Linked DNA regions of Homo sapiens: regions 1 and 3 are each linked to region 2. The links are contacts of gene promoters, found by promoter capture Hi-C in blood cells and fetal thymus (Javierre and others, 2016). All regions are on one chromosome and are shown on one strand. Each heading gives the region's core, a stretch centred on a gene start or on the middle of the fragment in contact. The rest is flanking DNA. Distances are from core to core; before and after follow the strand shown.

Region 1 (2,867 bases), core at 199-2,698, 960 kb before region 2:
CTAGAAAACAGTTATTTCATCTTATGTAAGAAGTTTATTGGTTCATTATTTTTTCTAAATAACAATAGCTATTCAGGAAGCTAATATCTCACTCTCTTCTATATTTTAGATGACAAATGAGCTCCACATGCTTAAAATCAATCAAGTGATCACTTGTTCAACAGGTACTTCCCACTTGCCAGACTATGAATGCTCAGGGTTATTTACCTAGAGTTTTAGCAGAAATTACAAATTGCTTTTCCTAATAGTTTCCTATCACAATTTCCTGTAATTGTCCTTCCTCCCCTGCTTCTTGGCTACATTCATATAAAGAAAGCTAGGTAAAGTAAATACAAATTACAACTTTCTCTTGTTGTGAAAGGAAGTTTCAGGTGGTTCCTGCTCAATTTTTTTACACCACTTGAGGCAAACAGATAATCCCAAATAAATGAAAACGTAGTAGACATAATTTATATTAGCACTGGAATTTGATGTTGTAGCTATGTGAACATTATTCAAGATCTTATATGTCTCATTTGAGTTATGTGGTTTTAATCTCGTTTAGCAAAGCTATTTAGTCAATGAAGAAAGGAAATCTGTACACATTAAAGAAATGATCTGGTGCTGATGTGAGTTTTCAAAAAAATTAAGCATTTTTAAAGAGATATCTGGGCTTTCCTTTTAGTGTAATAATTTTATTCTAATTCTAGACTTCCCAGAATTAACTTTCCTTAGTATGATTTTTTCTTAAGGAACAGCTGAAGAATGTGCCAAATGAGGAAAGATGTTTAATCTGGGGGAATTTGGACTAGCCTCAATTCCCATAACAAGAGAGATCTGTTTTTCTATATGTGGTGAGCTCTGGATAAAACTCTTTTCAAGGCTTTTTAAAGTTTGCAAATATTAATAAGAGCCCTCAAAAAAGCAAAAAATTTCTGAGGTGCCAATGTTTGCCATATAACTATTCTGTCAATATTACTCTCCCCACCACCACTTACCTGCATTCGATATTATCATCTAATACAGAGATAAGGAAGATACAAGTGACCATCTAGCTTCCCTAATAGGTGCTGGAAACCTCTTTTGTAAAAGACATGGGGAGACCATGGATGATCTCCAAGAATGTAAGTGAAAAAATATCTCTGCAAGTATATACTTGCACTTTAGAAGGGAGCTTATACCTTTTTTCCAGCTCTCTCAGAACCTTACACACCACCATGAAAGATATATTTGAGACCTACTTTAATATACAAGGATAACAGTATATAAAACTAGAATCAAAAAGTGCCAATCAATGATATATCCTGAAGAAGACAACACAAATATTTTAAAGACAGATAAAACTTCACATGGGGAGGAAGTTGGGGAGTGGGGAATTAAGATATTCTATGGATAAAGAAATCTCCAATAAAGAAGACTTTATATTTTTGAAAGCCAAGGAAGAGATTAAACAATTTTAAGATCTCTTTCTGTTCTATCATTATACTTGAATAAGCAGATTCAATTTTAATATCTTTATTAAAGAAAGATCTCTGGATCTTTCTTTCTGTATAACTCTGTCCTTTAATGTCTTTAAAGCTGAGCATTAACTATATATTTTTTATATATTAATCCTTTGAAAGATATGAAAAGTGTACCATGTGATAAATTTTAAATCACTTATAAAGTAATGAGGATTTGATGTAACTTCCAAAAATATCAAATCTCTGGTCACCATTCCCAGAAAATTACAATTGAATGAGTTAGGTAGGGCATTCAACAAGAAAATATCTGATTTCTGATGATATGATCATGTGTTGGGTAGGACTTTGATAAGAAAGAGATGAATGGCAATTTAGACTAACTTGTCTTTATAAAAATGTACAATAATGAGCATTAAATATGTGAATCAAAGAGTACTATTTATTGGATTCTGTGAATAAAGTGGCACCAATTACCTGTCATTCTCAGGACCCATAGTTCTCATCCTTCATGGGTTTTCTTCTGTTTGGATGGAAGTGACTGAAGATTAACTTCTTAATGGCTCCTGGGGGATCATGACTCAGCTGCCAGGACTTCTCGTTCCTTTAGAGTGATTCAGAGGAGTTGATCACGATGTCATCTGGGCAGATGGTTGTAGTCACCAACAGCTGTAGTTCCTCTCTTGAACCAAACTCAGACCCCTCCCAGATACTTGTCATTAGAAGCAATCATGAATTCTTAGCTTTTTCACATTAAGGCTTATTTTTATTACTAAAAATACTCTCCTTAATAGGAGTGAAAACACTGATCATTATTTGTCATGTTTATTGTACTTACAGATAAAAATTTTAGCTAATATTTGAAACTATAACATTTTTCTAATCAGGAAGTTTTCTAATTCATCATAAATCTGAAACCAAAAGGTTCTAGAAATCCAGTCTCAGGTATTATGAGTGTAGATTTTGCCCCCTTTTTCCCCTAAATATAATAAAGTAACATTTTTGTGAGAAATTCCCATACCTGGGTGAACATTTTGCTCTCCTTTTGCCATACCACAAGTTGAGATCATCAGAAGCAGAAAGTTGAGAAGTCTCCAATGTATTTGCCTAGGCAGAGATAAAATCTGATGGAAACAGGCCTTCAGGAGAAATGAAGAAACTGACTTGATCTTTTTAGCTATTAATCCTTAAAAATTTTTAAAAAGGTAATATCAACCTGAATTCCAGAACCTGTTAGGAAAGTCTCGTCTTTCCATGTATTTGCAAAGCACATGTACCTCCCACAAGATATCCCATTCATTATGAATTAATAGATTGATTTTAACTAACAAATTAATTCATTTACCAAGAGTTACATAGACAGGTAGGTAGATACACAATTAAAGGAGCAACTCTTCAGGAAACAGATGTTTTGGTCCTGAAATACCA
Region 2 (2,905 bases), core at 1-2,500:
GACGGCCCTTGCAACGCGGAACGTTGGCAACTTGAAAACATAACTGAATTATTAAATACTGCAGTATTCAAATGACCTGCAGCGAGTGAAAACTCAGCAAACACCCTTGTTCCTTCTGAACAATGACCTAAATAGTGAATCACTATAAAAAGAACAGATGACACATTCAATTCATCTGTTCAACCTCAAATGTGCAAATGTCTGACAGTCCCAGAGATAAGACACAATGAATTCAATAGGACAGTATGGTCATTTTAAGTCATCAGAATGTCTGCAAAAGGAGTAAGGAGAAACAGAATCAGACAGAGGCGGAAAGAGTGGGGGAGGGCTTGTTTAGGGAGACTGAAAAGGACGGGCGTTAAGCCTGTAAAGCAGAAAAAGGCTACCAAGAAGCCTAACTGGTAGAGGAGAAAAAGAAGTTCGGGGATGATATTGACCAAATCCTCGACACTGGCACAGGAGGCGGGGAGTCCGGCAAGACCAGCCTTTGTTGATTTCCCACTTTCCCCGATTTTTAAGCACAGGTCTGCTTCAAAGCTCTCCCGCTGCCCCTAACCAATTTTAAGAGGTGAGAAGCGGGGTGTAACTGGGTGATGGGTACCAAAGGGAGTTCATTTCCCCAAATATTTCCTCCACCCAGGATATAAACCACTCTGAGAGGTAGGATGGGTGAGACAGACAGACGCCGGGATCTCTCGGAAATCAATCCCAATGGAGAAACGCTGGGTGGGTGCGCGCGGTGGGGGAGGGGGCCGGCTCCAGTTCCAAGTGCGGCCACTTACGAAGACGCGCTGGGCACGAAGAAATCCACGGCGAAGCCGAAGTAACTTCCCTCGGGGCCAGAGTACTCGGCAGGACTGTCCACGTCTAGGTTGAAGGCGCGGCACAGAGGTAGCAGGAGTCCCGAGAGAAGAAGCGGGAGGCCGCGGGGACCGAGGCGCAGCCGTCGCCGCGGCGGAAAAGCCATCGCCGAAGTGCGCGCGGGACGCCAAGCCGGGAGCGGTAGCCACCTCCCCCCGCCCCAGCGAGGCGCCCAGTGCCCGCGGCCCGCCGCCTGCGCGCGCCCAAACTTGCCGGCCGCTCTCTTCTCGGCTAGCCCGGGACAGCTCCGGGGCAGGCAAGAGGGCTGAGCTTCGGAGCGACCGCCAGGGACGAGGGGCGCAGAGCGCGCGGGGCGGGGACAGCAGCGCAGACGGTCCTTTGCTTCCCTCCGGCTCCGCCGCTCCACGCAGCGTCTGAGGCTGGGGACTGCCGGGGTGAGCGCCGCACCTCAGGCCTGAGAGCCGCGGCGGCACTGGGAGGAGACCTGGAAGGAGGAGGAGCCGGCCCGGGAGGCTGCTGTGGAGCTGGAGGAGGAAGTGGGGGAGGAGAGGCGCCCTTCTACAGGGGAGAGCTCAGCGTACTTCCGTGAGTGCAGTCGCCGCCTGTCCCGAGACCTGGGCGTCTGTGCAGGGGCCCCCAGCTCCTGAGCCTGGGTCAGCGGCAGCGCTCCTGGACGAAGGCCTCAGGCTGAGCACCTGAGGAGGCGTGGGGGCGGGGGCGGGGAGATACGGTCCAGCGTCCCAATCTACCCGCGTCCACGGGAGTAGCAAGGGCACCCACGTTCCCTTGTCCCGCCGGGAACTTCCGTGCGACTGTTGTTTAAAAATGAGGAAAGCTTTTTATCAGTTTCTCGTGTTTCTGCTGCTTAGCCTGGCAGGCTCTCACGAACGAAACCCTGTTAATTAATGGTCGTTAATTACACTCCATTCCACAAACACTGAACTTAATTACGGATTTCCAGAAAGCCAGCATAGCCTCTTGCAAGTGAGGTATGTAAAGCTTAACTTAGTAGTCAAAGAAAGGATTCGCAGGGCAAAGAATTGGCAGTGATCGTTTTAAATCAAGTCAGAATAATCGAAGCCTTATTCCCAGTTTGTTAGCTGCGGTTGTATGATTTAGAAACACTGATTTGTTGATTTAGGATGTTTGGATAGACATAATTTCAGAGCTGGAAGAAGGACCGCACACCGGTGAAATAAGGCCCCGCGTGCTTGTTTGCCACTGGTGTGTTTCATCAAGCCTTGACAACACTGGACTGAGAGAGAGGGCCTTGAGGACAGGAACCTTGACCTTTTTCTTAGTGTTCTTATTTCTAGCACCTTGCCAAGCAGATAGTAGTCGATCAATAAAATGTCCAATCAGTGAATGAATAGCAGACGAAATGAGCAAAGTGCCCAGAGAAGTGACTCTTCCATATTTCAAGTGTTTCATGTGCTACAGAATCTGTTGAACAAGGTGAAGTTTAAGTGCATTGTGTGGACTTACAACTTACAAGTAAGTACTGGAACAGTAATTTCTGTTTTCCCAAAGTAACTATTAAAACTCAATCATAATATACATTAATAACTATCAAATAATCCTGTGAAAGGATATGTATATAAATGAAAGTGAAATGCCTAATTCGAATTTGTAATATTTATTGGACCAGGTCCAGGTGCTCATGCTGGCAATCTCAGCACTTTGGGAGACTGAGGCAGGAGGATTGCTTGAGACCGGGAGTTCCAGGGGAACATAGGGAGACCTCATCTCTACAAAAATTTAAAAATTAGCTGGGAGTGTGGTGCATGCCTGTAGTCCCAGCTATGCCGGAGGCTAAGGCAGGTAGATAGATCGCTTAGGCTCAGGAGTTCCAGGTTATGATAAGTCATGAGCCTGCCACTGCACTCCAGCCTGAGTGACAGAACAAGACCCTGTGTTTAAAAAAAAAAAAGGCCGGGCGAGGTGGCTCATGCCTGTAGTCCTAGCACTTTGGGAGGCTGAGGCCGGCAAATTGCCTGAGCTCGGGAGTTCGAGACCAGCCTGGGCAACACAGTGAAATCCCGTCTCTACTAAAATACAAAAAATTAGCCGGGCGTGGCGGCAT
Region 3 (3,051 bases), core at 417-2,916, 870 kb before region 2:
GAAATGGGAAAAGTTCCCAGATCCGGAAAGGGACATGTGATGGGGGAGGGGCTTGCTTCTTCAGTGCCCGGCTGCTCAAACCTCTAGGGGAGCATACAGACAAACAGTCCATGGGGCTCTAACCCCACGGCAGTGACTAGAGGTGGATGTTTACAGCTCCTGAAGCCCCAGTGGGCGTGTGTTACAGGGTGCTCTTTTAGTTTTGCCGTCTACAGGCTTGTGTTAACCAGCTCATAGACCCGCTTACTTACCACAAGGACGGAGGGATTTCTGTATCCCAGGGTTTCCTGCCGTGGTGTACCGGAAGAACCAGATCACGCGAGGGCTTGGAGAATGAGTCCGAGGTTTTACTGAGTAGAAGTAGTTCTCAGCAGATGGGGGAGCCAGATGGGAGATGCACCAGGGGTCCCTCTGCTTAGCGGCCCGTGCTCTCCTCCTCCTGATCTCGCTAAACTCCACATCGTTCCTCCAGTCAATGGCCTGCTGTCCTGCCAGTGTCTGTCATGTGCTCTTCCACTGGCATGCTCCCCTCGACATCCTCTCGATGTCCGGCTGCTTGTGTCTTCTTCCGCTGATCCCCTCCTCTGGACGTCCAGACGCTTGTGTATCTATCTGCCTGCTAGGGTCTCAGTTTTTATCCGCCCAGGATGGGGGTGTGGTGGGCCAGGGTGGTTTTGGAAAATGCAACATTTGGGCCCAAAGGCAGGAGTGCCTGTCCTCACCTAGGTTCGTGGGCACAAGCCAGAGGGTGAAGCCCTAGCCAGGAACCGGCCTTGCTCTACCCAGCACTTCCCTGTCCCCCGTTCGGTATCATTTAAAGGGACCATGCTCGTCCCTTCCCAGCACTCCTGTATCAAAATCAATAGCATTTCTGTACACTAGGAAAAATGTACTAGCCACAATAGAACAGAAACCCTAATTTGCCCAACAGTAAATCCCACAAAAGATGATTTTAAAAACTTTTAGATAAAAAAATCTTATATTGAAAATTCAAATATGTTATTGAAGTACATAAATGGAGCTAAATATTTTCCTGTTTGTTGTAACTTCTATAATTAGTATTCACAGAGAAATCAGCCAATGATAACACTAGGTTATAAGAAAGAAACTCTTGGTAATTAAAATGAAATAAATGGTTTTTTAAAATCAAGAAATAGAAGATAAAGTTAAAAAAAAAAATCTCTAAGCTTTGGAAAGAAGAGGTCATTAGGATGGAAAAGAAGATAGAAAAGATAAAATTTCGCAATTAGTTCAGGTGCCCTACCTTGAAGTGTCAAAAGGATCTGGAAAATAGCAGAGATAAATAGAGGGGAGAGACATCTTACAGAAAAAGAATAACAGAGATTCCCTTCACTGAAATGGTGTGTTGTACCCAACAAAGGGTAACCGCCTGACATACCCCCTCTGCACACACATGAAATTTCAAATTCTAGTAACGAAGAGAAAAGTCCTAAGAACAGGAGACTGTGGAGGGATAAGTCACATACAAAGAAATAGAAATAAAAAGGAATTGTATATTTCCATGACAGTAATGGAAGGAAGCCACAAGACAGTTGAATGTAGAAGTCTGAGGGATGGAGAATGGCTATTTACTTGCTAGAAGTCTGTTTGTACTAACTTATCTTTCAATTATGTGTGTGTAGTGCTTTGCTGAAAGATGGGAAAGAGGCTTTGGGAAAAAGTTTTAGAATATAAACTAAGAGATACTGTTTCTAGTACCAGTACTAACCTAGTGGATGAATTTTTTTGACCATCTAATTTCTCTGGCCCCATATTTACTTATATTTAGAATGAGTGTTTTGGACTAGACTGGTTATATAAACAAGTTTTTTGGTTTGGGTAATTTTAAGATTTTATGGCAATACTCTCTATTTAAAAGTATCTAATACCAACATATGTTAAGCCAAAAAAAAATGGAGAGATGTTCTGTGATTAAAAAATAAAAATCAACATTGGCCGGATTCTACTGTTAGCAATATCCATACCCCCCCCAGCATAAGGTTGTTATGTACAGTAGTCTTCTATATTCTTCAAAAATAGCCTATGCTGATGGAGCTTGACATCTTCAAACTGACTATACCTACAATTTCCTTTTCCAGTGCCTGATTAATTCCCAAACATCAAAAGATTTTATGAGAAGCTTCCAAGTAATTACCTTACAGGAGGTCCCACATACTGTGGGATTTTCTGAATGCCTTAATAATGGGTTTTATAATCAAAAAACATTTCTGAATCCATTAACTTTTTCTTTCTCAATATTATATATATCGTAGGGAAAATAATATATGTGGATCTGATTTATACTACTCATCAAGGCGTTTCAACCTCATGAGAAGTTTTGAAATAATTTTTAGACCGTTTTTGTCTCTTAAGTATTCTAAAAAAGCAAGCCAAATTTAATTAAGAATAATTAACTAGAATTAGATTTTTCTAGTACCAAAATGTTTTATCTCAATCAACAATTTATTCTAAGTTTTAGACAAATCCTAATTGTAGCCAAAATCAACTCATTCCTGTCAACATTGTTGATGATTTGCTATTCTTTTTCATTACAAGATAAAATCAGCCAACTCAATTATGAACTTGAATTTCTTTAGGGACTTAATCCATATTTAATCTGTATTTGCACAAGGGGCATAATTCTAATTTACTGAACTCTTTTTCTAAGCTGCAGGTGTTCTTAAATTAGAAGCCAGAGGAAACTGCTACTTCCTTCTTGTTAGTCAGTTTTTGGAATCAGAAAGCAAGAACTTTGACTTTCCAACAGTATTTTTTTTTAAAACATATTCCCCACTCTCAACAGAATGTTCCACAAAATTTGTAAGTCACTCTAGGGAAATTTCCAGAGTTTCAAGATGTGAACAGCTGTGAGCTACCTAAATGATCCATCTTGCCAAGAAATTGTTACTCCAGAGACGACGAAATAAACAATTACCATTTTTTATTGAAAGTTTCTGCCACTGTTCAATGAGAAAGTATTTAAAATTCTAAAGCTAATGACTGTATATGTTAGGAAACTTTATTTATCTCTTTACATATTCTTTATTAACT

What was found. The method cuts DNA at HindIII sites, captures the fragments that hold promoters and counts their contacts. A CHiCAGO score of 5 or more calls a contact.
Region 1: a fragment that was not itself captured here is called in contact with the fragment with the promoter of ITGAV in region 2 in 2 of 17 cell types (M0 macrophages and M1 macrophages); the score reaches 7.7 in M0 macrophages.
Region 3: a contact is called between a fragment that was not itself captured here and the fragment with the promoter of ITGAV in region 2, in 1 of 17 cell types (monocytes). The highest score is 11.5, in monocytes.

The regions. Positions count from the first base shown.
Region 1 is chr2:187,546,757-187,549,623 of GRCh38, reverse strand. The region is part of intron 1 of TFPI (tissue factor pathway inhibitor); the gene reads left to right. It overlaps CALCRL-AS1 (CALCRL and TFPI antisense RNA 1), which reads right to left. Exons shown (of 6, transcript NR_187179.1): 4 at 2,785-2,867; 5 at 2,461-2,546; 6 at 2,099-2,141. Among named protein-coding and RNA genes, the nearest start is that of TFPI, 6.2 kb to the left of the region's middle. RefSeq lists an enhancer at 1,596-2,795. The HindIII fragment of the contact is 5,188 bases long and covers 1-2,867 here.
Region 2 is chr2:186,588,401-186,591,305 of GRCh38, reverse strand. ITGAV (integrin subunit alpha V) reads right to left here and starts at 1,250. Exons shown (of 30, transcript NM_002210.5): 1 at 783-1,250. The coding sequence starts at 967. LOC124906105 (a long non-coding RNA gene) reads left to right here and starts at 1,410. Exons shown (of 2, transcript XR_007087465.1): 1 at 1,410-2,316. RefSeq lists an enhancer at 768-827 and a silencer at 958-1,187. The HindIII fragment of the contact is 2,158 bases long and covers 1-1,659 here.
Region 3 is chr2:187,459,217-187,462,267 of GRCh38, reverse strand. The region is part of intron 2 of CALCRL-AS1 (CALCRL and TFPI antisense RNA 1); the gene reads right to left. Among named protein-coding and RNA genes, the nearest start is that of CALCRL, 12 kb to the right of the region's middle. RefSeq lists a silencer at 1,440-1,640. The HindIII fragment of the contact is 953 bases long and covers 1,190-2,142 here.